Linked DNA regions of Homo sapiens: all the other regions are linked to region 1. The links are contacts of gene promoters, found by promoter capture Hi-C in blood cells and fetal thymus (Javierre and others, 2016). All regions are on one chromosome and are shown on one strand. The core of a region is centred on a gene start or on the middle of the fragment in contact, and the rest is flanking DNA. Distances in the headings are between cores, read along the strand shown. Region 1 holds the start of SYCE3 (synaptonemal complex central element protein 3). Region 2 overlaps MOV10L1 (Mov10 like RNA helicase 1). Region 3 overlaps PLXNB2 (plexin B2).

The links. The method cuts DNA at HindIII sites, captures the fragments that hold promoters and counts their contacts. A CHiCAGO score of 5 or more calls a contact.
Region 2: a fragment that was not itself captured here is called in contact with the fragment with the promoter of SYCE3 in region 1 in 1 of 17 cell types (monocytes); the score reaches 5.1 in monocytes.
Region 3: a contact is called between a fragment that was not itself captured here and the fragment with the promoter of SYCE3 in region 1, in 1 of 17 cell types (monocytes). The highest score is 5.0, in monocytes.

The regions. Positions count from the first base shown.
Region 1 is chr22:50,561,522-50,564,238 of GRCh38, forward strand. SYCE3 (synaptonemal complex central element protein 3) reads right to left here and starts at 1,398. Exons shown (of 3, transcript NM_001123225.3): 1 at 1,337-1,398. It overlaps LOC107985568 (a long non-coding RNA gene), which reads left to right and starts at 1,440. Exons shown (of 2, transcript XR_001755606.3): 1 at 1,440-2,046. RefSeq lists silencers at 1-19, 1,090-1,499. The HindIII fragment of the contact is 5,765 bases long and covers 1-2,717 here.
Region 2 is chr22:50,145,593-50,148,309 of GRCh38, forward strand. MOV10L1 (Mov10 like RNA helicase 1) reads left to right here. Exons shown (of 27, transcript NM_018995.3): 19 at 97-218. Among named protein-coding and RNA genes, the nearest start is that of PANX2, 24 kb to the right of the region's middle. The HindIII fragment of the contact is 7,030 bases long and covers 1-2,717 here.
Region 3 is chr22:50,284,142-50,286,858 of GRCh38, forward strand. It overlaps PLXNB2 (plexin B2), which reads right to left. Exons shown (of 37, transcript NM_012401.4): 9 at 2,032-2,146; 10 at 1,849-1,957; 11 at 1,659-1,760; 12 at 432-524; 13 at 1-72. Among named protein-coding and RNA genes, the nearest start is that of MAPK11, 15 kb to the left of the region's middle. The HindIII fragment of the contact is 5,633 bases long and covers 1-2,717 here.

The DNA.
Region 1 (2,717 bases), core at 148-2,647:
AGGAGCGTGGGGCGGGAGGAGTGTGGGGCGGGAGCGTGGGGCGGGAGTGTAGGGTCTGGCTTGGGTATCACTTTAGGTGTGAAGGACGGGGGTTGAGCGAGTCAGAGCCTAGAGTCTGGTTTGTGGTCTGAGTGTCTTGCCTGGTACGAAGAGTTTCTAACAGAGTCTGGGATCCCTCTGAGAACAAGGAATGTGAGGGGATAAGAGGGATGCTTGGTGCAGAGATGTGCTCTTTTGTACGGGATGAGAGCAGCACAGGAAGGGAATGCACCTGTGATGTGGGAGAGAAGTCTTGGAGTTGGGCTATGAAGAGTCTGGGCGGGTCCTGAAGTGCAGGTGGAGGAAGCCAGAGGTGCGTGTGGGAACTTGGGGTGTGAGGTGGTGTGTGGACTCCGGGGTCCCAGGTGTGGCAGGTGTGAGGGTAAGAGGGGCAGGCTGCACGGAATGAGAAGCCCAGGGTGTGCAGACTTCAGGATCAGGAGTGTATGGTGTGAGGACATGGAGATTAGGTTAAGGGGGTGAAGGACTGAGGTGAGGGATGTAAGGTGGGGAGAGTGGGGTATGGAGTGTGCAGTGAGGGGAGCGGGGGAGGGGTGAGGCGGGGTGAGGCGGGGTGAGGAGGGGTGAGGGGTGAGGCGGGGTGAGGGGTGAGGCGGGGTGAGGGGTGAGGCTGGGTGAGGAGGCGGGTGAACGGTGACGTGAGCGATGAGGGGTGAGGGGCGAGGCGGGTGAGGCGGGGTAAGGAGGGGTGAGGCGGGGTGAGGGGTGAAGGGTGAGGCGGGGTGAGGGGTGAAGGGTGAGGCGGGGTGAGGGGTGAGGGGTGAGGCGGGGTGAGGGGTGAAGGGTGAGGCGGGGTGAGGGGTGAAGGGTGAGGCGGGGTGAGGGGTGAGGCGGGGTGAGGGGTGAGGCGGGGTGAGGGGTGAGGGGTGAGGCGGGGTGAGGAGGGGTGAGGGGTGAGGGGCGAGGCGGGTGAGGCGGGGTGAGGAGGGGTGAGGGGTGAGGCGGGATGAGGGGTGAGGGGTGAGGCGGGATGAGGGGTGAGGGGTGAGGCGGGGTGAGGGGTGAGGCGGGGTGAGGGGTGAGGGGCGAGGCTGGGTGAGGAGGCGGGTGAGCGGTGACGTGAGCGATGAGGGGTGAAGGGTGAGGCGGGGTGAGGGGCGTCGGGGGAGGGGCATGGGGTGTGGAGTGAGTGGAGTCGGGTGAGTGGAGTTGGGTCGAAGTCAAGGGTCTGGCTTGAGGTTGGTGCCACCGCGAACGCTAGGACAGGGTCAGGCGGAGCCCAGCCGTCAGGGCGCGTTGGGAGGGCCGGGGCCCAGGGGGGCGCGGCCTCGCTCACCTCCAGCTTGGCCCGCGCTCCGGTCCTGCTCTGGCGCCCCCAGCGGCCGCTTGAGGAACAAGGCCGCTCCTCGAGAGGGATGCCCCGCCCTTTCCGTTAGCGAACCCTCCCCGGAAGTGACCTCTCGCCCTCATTGGGTGTCCTCGGGAAAAGGGGCGGGGCATTCCGCGCTGCTCCCACAGGTCTGCGGCGTCCGAGTCTGGGACTGGCAGGTGCGGTGCTGGGGACGTCCTGAGGTTGAGGGAGAATCCTGCGGAGATGAAGAGCTTCCCGGCCTGACAGTTTTGCCCCCACCTCCTTCTTGAGCTTAAGGATTTATACGCAGGGCCCCGTTTGCCTGCTGTGTCCCCAGTGTCCAGGACAGCGCCCGGTACCAAAGGTGCTGGTAAACATTTGTCGAATGAGTCGCTGAACGCCCAGCTATTTCCACTGTCACAGCGATCATGTGTGGCGGACATTATGTGGCATGTATCTTACAGAGGAGGCAGCCCGGGCTCAGGGAGACGAGGCAGAGGTGCACGCAGGTCTATGTGGGCTGGAAAGTGCTGGGGCCTCCCGGGCGCTCCTGGTCTCCAGGCAAGAACTGGAAGCAGAGCCACTCAACACCTAGAAGGGCAGTGACAGAAAGCTCTGGCTGGGAGGAGGCTGACCAGAGGCCAGTCTGAGCTCAGCCTTTTTTTTCAGAGGGACGTGGGCACCCTAGAAGGGTGGTAAGTAGGCGAGTGGCAGAGTTAAAAGGTCTCTGGCTGCCGAGGCGGGTGGCGACGGGGCCGGCCGTTGCTGTTGTTTGGCTGAGTGGTGGACAGGGTCAAAGCCATTCCAAGGTCGACTTGACAGGGCTTGGTAATGTGGGAGGGAGGGAGAAAGAAGCAAGGGGCTAATGGCCGGGGTGATACCACTGGCAGAGATGTGGAAGAGTGGGAGAAGCTAGCTTGGAAGGTTAACTTTGATTTTGAACACCTTGTGTTTGAGAATCCTGACAAACCTTAGACCCCCTGAATTTTCTCTCAGGGATTCTGATTCTTAGCAGCCTGATTGCAGAGGAGGAAAAATGGCTGGGGTTGAGCCAGACAGTTCTGGGCAAGGAGTGAGCATTCGCTTGTTTATTGAGGAGGCTGCTGCCTGGGCCACACTCCCTCCGCCAGCTGCCAGGTTCCTGCCCCGGTTGAACCCGGTTTTCTGGCCATCCCTTTCCACCTGTGAGCTGCTCTTCATACTTCCATTTGCTTATACAGCCCAGAGCCGATTTCTGTTACAGCAGCCCAGAGAAACATGAATAGGGAATAATTCTTTTTTTTTTTTTTTGAGACGGAGTCTTGCTCTGTTGCCCAGGCTGGAGTGCAGTGGCACGATCTCGGCTCACTGCAACCTCCGCCTCCCA
Region 2 (2,717 bases), core at 67-2,566, 420 kb before region 1:
GACGTAACTAAGAAGTGGTACCAGGGCAAGGTTCCCTTTTGGAATTCTGCTTAATAATTGGAGGAGTAAACTAACTCTACGCCTCCTTGCCCCCAGATAGTTATTGACGCCGTCAAACCGTATTGCAGAGACGGAGAAGACATCTGGAAAGCCTCACGCTTCCGGATAATCATCACCACATGCAGCAGCTCAGGGCTGTTTTACCAAATAGGAGTGAGGTGAGCCCCGGGCATGGAGCGCGGCATGGGGCCTCCCAGGGCAGAGGTCGGAGTCCTCTCCTAGCTTCTGTCTGAGGGGCGGATGACCCAGAGACTCAGTGCTCAGGGAGGGAGGCAGGGCTGTGGGCGAGAAAGGCTGGTTGGGGAGGGCCGTGCCTGAATGGAGCTGGGGAAGCCGAGACCCCAAGGACTCGAAGGAGCCAGCAGTGGGATGGGCAGGCAGATGGACTGGCCCATGCAGAGGCCCCGCGGTGGGGGAGCACTGAGGTCTCCCCAAAGGAGACTGTAGAGCCAGAGCCTCGTGAGCAGGAACGGCCTGAAAGGGGTGGTGAGGGGGAGGCCTGGCGGGCTGTGGAGGGGCCTTTGGACGACCTCTGGTGAGCCGGGAAGCCAGTGAAGGGCTTCTGAGCAGGAGAGTGAGTCTCTTGGAGTGGGCGTGGGGAGGCAGGCTGCCTAGGAAACGGCTGGGCTCTGTAAGGTCAGACCCTGGGGGCCATTTGTGTCCCTGGCGCTGGGGGCTCTTCAGGGGAGACAGGCGGAGGAGATGGATTGTGGGGTGCCGGCTGTCATAGGAGGACCTCCCCTGGGGGCTGGGAGGAAGAGCTTCGAGCCCAGGGAGGCTGAGTGAGGACCAAGGCACTCTCAGACCCCAGTGCAGGGGGGTGGGGTCGGGGAGGCAGCAGGCAGCTCCCTCTCAGTGCATAGAGCCAGACAGTGTCGGGGGCACAGGCTGAGGGTGAGAGAGGGAGAAGCCAGGGCCTCTGAGGGAAGCCCCACCCTCCCTGACGGCCTGGAGACAGGTCGCTCTGAACAGTGTCCAGCGTCACAGTGGTCGTGACCCTCCCTGACAGCCTGGAGACAGGTCACCCTGGACAGTGTCCAGCGTCACGGTGGTCGTGAGGGTGACCACAGGAGGTGGTCCGTCAGCTCCACATGGAGCAAAGGCACAGCCAGCCACGCCTATCACAGCGTGTCACGGATGGTTTCATCGGCGCGTTTAACTCTCTCACATACATGATGTCCTTTCATCATGAGATTAGTAGAACGTGATTGATGAGACACTTTACATTTTTTTTGGTTCAAGTCTTCAAAATCCACCATGTATTTTACACTTAGAGCATGTCAGGTTTCAGACTAGCCACTGTGCGGTGCCCGAGAGCCGTGTGTGGCTACCGGATTGGACAGCACGGATCTGAACAAGACAGGGATTTTTTTTGTTAATGTGTGTTGATGAGTCAAAGGTCAAGAGCCGAAGAGCCAGTCCTCACTGGGGTGCAGAGGGCTCTTTGGGGGCAGAGCGGGCACTGCATGGACCCTGCACCCTGGAGCTGATGTTCAGGTAGTGGGAGGAGGTGGCCGGCCAGGGCAGGCCGCTCTCTCAGAGGCACTCTGTGCAGAAGCAGGGAGGGTGCTGCAGGCCGCTCTCTCAGAGGCGCTCTGTGCAGAAGCAGGGAGGGTGCTGCAGGCCGCTCTCTCAGAGGCGCTCTGTGCAGAAGCAGGGAGGGTGCTGCAGGCCGCTCTCTCAGAGGCGCTCTGTGCAGAAGCAGGGAGGGTGCTGCAGGCCGCTCTCTCAGAGGCGCTCTGTGCAGAAGCAGGGAGGGTGCTGCAGGCCGCTCTCTCAGAGGCGCTCTGTGCAGAAGCAGGGAGGGTGCTGCAGGCCGCTCTCTCAGAGGCGCTCTGTGCAGAAGCAGGGAGGGTGCTGCAGGCCGCTCTCTCAGAGGCGCTCTGTGCAGAAGCAGGGAGGGTGCTGCAGGCCGCTCTCTCAGAGGCGCTCTGTGCAGAAGCAGGGAGGGTGCTGCAGCCCAGCTGCAGAGGCCCCACAGCGTTAGTTGGCCACTGGGGGCGGCTGGAGTGGGGAGGGGCACTTCAAAGGGCAAAGAAGTAGCAATGTCATCTGGCAAAAGTGACATTAAATAACTGCAATTAATACAGAATTGAAACCTAAATACTTACATTCTAGGAAAGATACATAATGTTAATTTTTTTCAACAGAAATAGGGACATGAGATGGGGAAATGGCAGTTTGCTGATTTCCACATCTTTCACTGGGAGGGGTTCACGGTGTCACTTGTGAAATCCGTGTCTTGAGAGTTACACATTGATACCTGAAGTGAAAGGTGTCAGCTGACCGTGAGTGGATGCAGGACATGTTGGGCCCAGCACTGCTGTAAGCAGGAGCCCGCCCCCGCACAGGTCTGACCACAGGGTCTCACCCCACAGTGGGACACCTGAGGCTCAGAGGTGATGGATTTGCCCAGCATCTAGGGTTGGAGAGGGGAGATCCTGGAATCAGCAGTGAGAAGGGTAAACGTGGGCTCGGCAGTGAGGACGGTGCGGGCCCAAGGTGCGTCCTGTTGAGTGTTGGCGTGGCTCCGGACACTCTCTCTGCCCCATACCTGCTTCCTCAGGCATCAGGACATGTTTCTGCCCCAAGAGCATTTCCCCACTGAGGCCTCCTGACCACAGAGCAGAAGCTGCTGGGGTGGGCGAGCCAGGGAA
Region 3 (2,717 bases), core at 143-2,642, 280 kb before region 1:
GCTGTCGATATTCTTGCCGTAAGACTTGACGTAGAGGTGCAGGGGCAGCGTCTCGTTGGCATCGTGGGACAGCTGGGGGACACGCAGGGGCACACTGCACTTCCTGCCCCCACAGAGGGGCGTGGGGCGGGGGTCACAAGGGCAGCCTCCCTGTGGCCACCGGGTCCCTTCCCAGCCAAGGGCAGCAGGGGAGGCCTTCAGGTGTCGGAAGTTCGGGAACCCCATGGACGCTGCTCTGTGCCACTCTGTCCCCAGGGAGGCAGAGGGCAGAGGGGGCTTCCCCAGCAGCACAGGGCATGGCGAGCCCCTGGCTGGGCTCTGGTCCCTGGGGTCTCCCTGCTGCCCCTCCCCTCACAGTCCTGAAGGTGACCCCCCACCCCACCCGGGGCCCTGGGGTCCAGCAGCCGAGCCGGCCTGCCCTGGAGCCGTACCTTTGGGGTCCGAAAGGCGAAGGTCCCAGATTCCTGCATGGTCACCGGCTCCATGAACTTGAGCAAGTCACTGCCCACGTGCAGGGAGGAACCCTGCAGACCATGCCGTCAGGACCCTGGACAGGCGGCTGTGGCACCCTGGCCCTCCTCCCAGAACCCCTGCAGCCCCTCCTCTGTGCCTACAGTGTGGGAGCCCTCTCCTCACCCCACACATGCCCGCCCCTCAGATTACCATGCCAGCTGACCCCTCGGCCACTCCTGAGCCCAAACACCTGTGTCTGCAGAAGCCTCTGAACGTCCTCTGTGGGTTTCCCACGGCCACCTCCACCACTCATCCACACCTGAGAACATCGCCCGGCCCACCTGACATCGTGGCCCCCACAGCTCCCTCCTCAGGAGGTGGCACTGGCCCCTCAATCTCCACACGCCTGCCTCCTCCACTGCCTCTCTTCAGGCCCATCCAAAGGCCCCCGAGTGCTGCCTCCTGGCCTCTGTCCCCGATAAATCCTGTGCCCTCTACCTCATGTGGGGGCCCCGAGTCGGGGGGCACGGGTGGAGCTCAGGCTTCCCACACACCCATCAGCACTGGCCGGCACCCCTCCCTCCGTACCTTAGCCTGCCTGTCACCAACCGGCACCCCCTCCCTCCGCACCTGAGCCTGCCTGTCACCGGCCGGCACCCCTCCCTCCGCACCTGAGCCTGCCTGTCACCAACCGGCACCCCCTCCCTCCGCACCTGAGCCTGCCTGTCACCGGCCGGCACCCCTCCCTCCGCACCTGAGCCTGCCTGTCACCGGCCGGCACCCCTCCCTCCGCACCTGAGCCTGCCTGTCACCGGCCGGCACCCCCTCCCTCCGCACCTGAGCCTGCCTGTCACCAACCGGCACCCCCTCCCTCCGTACCTGAGCCTGCCTGTCACCGGCCGGCACCCCTCCCTCCGCACCTGAGCCTGCCTGTCACCGGCCGGCACCCCTCCCTCCGCACCTGAGCCTGCCTGTCACAGCCGGCACCCCTCCCTCCGCACCTGAGCCTGCCTGTCACCGGCCGGCACCCCTCCCTCCGCACCTGAGCCTGCCTGTCACAGCCGGCACCCCTCCCTCCGCACCTGAGCCTGCCTGTCACCGGCCGGCACCCCTCCCTCCGTACCTGAGCCTGCCTGTCACCGGCCGGCACCCCTCCCTCCGCACCTGAGCCTGCCTGTCACCAGCCGGCACCCCTCCCTCCGCACCTTCACGGTGTCCAGGTTCTTGCCCTGGAAGTTCACATCTGTCTCGTGGTTCATGGGGATCACCAGGGGGCTGGGTCCCAGGAACTGGGGACAGCTGTCCTCCTGGGAGAGTAAGGCTGGTCAGGTGCTGCCTGGGCACAGCGGAGCAGCCATGCCCTGAACAGTCCCCTGAGGCCCCGAGGCCCCTCACCATGTGGGCACGGACGATGCCGTCCTCAGGGTTGGGCGAAGCCTCCCGGCACTCGTGGTAGCGCAGGTCCCACTGGCAGGTCCAGCGGTTGCTCACGCAGGAGATGCACCTGCATCCAGAGGGGATCGTGAGCAGGGCTGGGGTGGACGGGCAGGGTGGGGTCGATGGGCACAAGACACTCACGGCAGGTTCTCCTCCAGGCTCATGGCCTGGCGGCAGTCGTAGAAGGGGTACTGGTAGGACGTGAGGAAGATGTTGCCTCGTCTAAGGAGGAGCTGGATGGTCACGGCCACGTGGTCTGCAGACAGCAGAGGGGGAGGTGTCAAGGTGGCGGCCGCAGGGCCGAGGGCCAGGCTGGGCCTCCCCTGGGGCTGACTCCTGGGGCCAAGGTGGAGACCCCTGGTCTTCAGGGGGCCCTGCCAGGACGCCCCGCATTCATGTTGGGCGGGGCCTGCCACCTGCTATCAGATCTCGGGTGGGGCTGCCAGGACGCCCGTTCACGCTGGGCTGGACCTGCCACCTGCTATCAGATCTTGGTTCGGGTGTCGGGCGCAGCACCGGGCTTGCCTTTCTCCCCCGGGTCCAGGTTGCTTTCATACCCTCTGTTCCCGCAGGCACTGAGGGCAGCGGCTCCTTGGAGTCTGAGTGGGACCTGCCAGGTCCCTGCCCACGTCACTGCGTGGCCCCACTGCCCCCAAAACTCAGGGGACATGGGCGCGACGCCTGCCCTGGCCCACATGCGAGGCCCTGCAGCCTCTGGGAACGGCCCTGCTCTCTGAAGCTGGACATGGCAGGAAGGGGTGAGGGGCGTCTGCCGAGACGACGGGGCCTGGCGCCTGGCACCCACATGCCGCTCCGGACGTGATGAG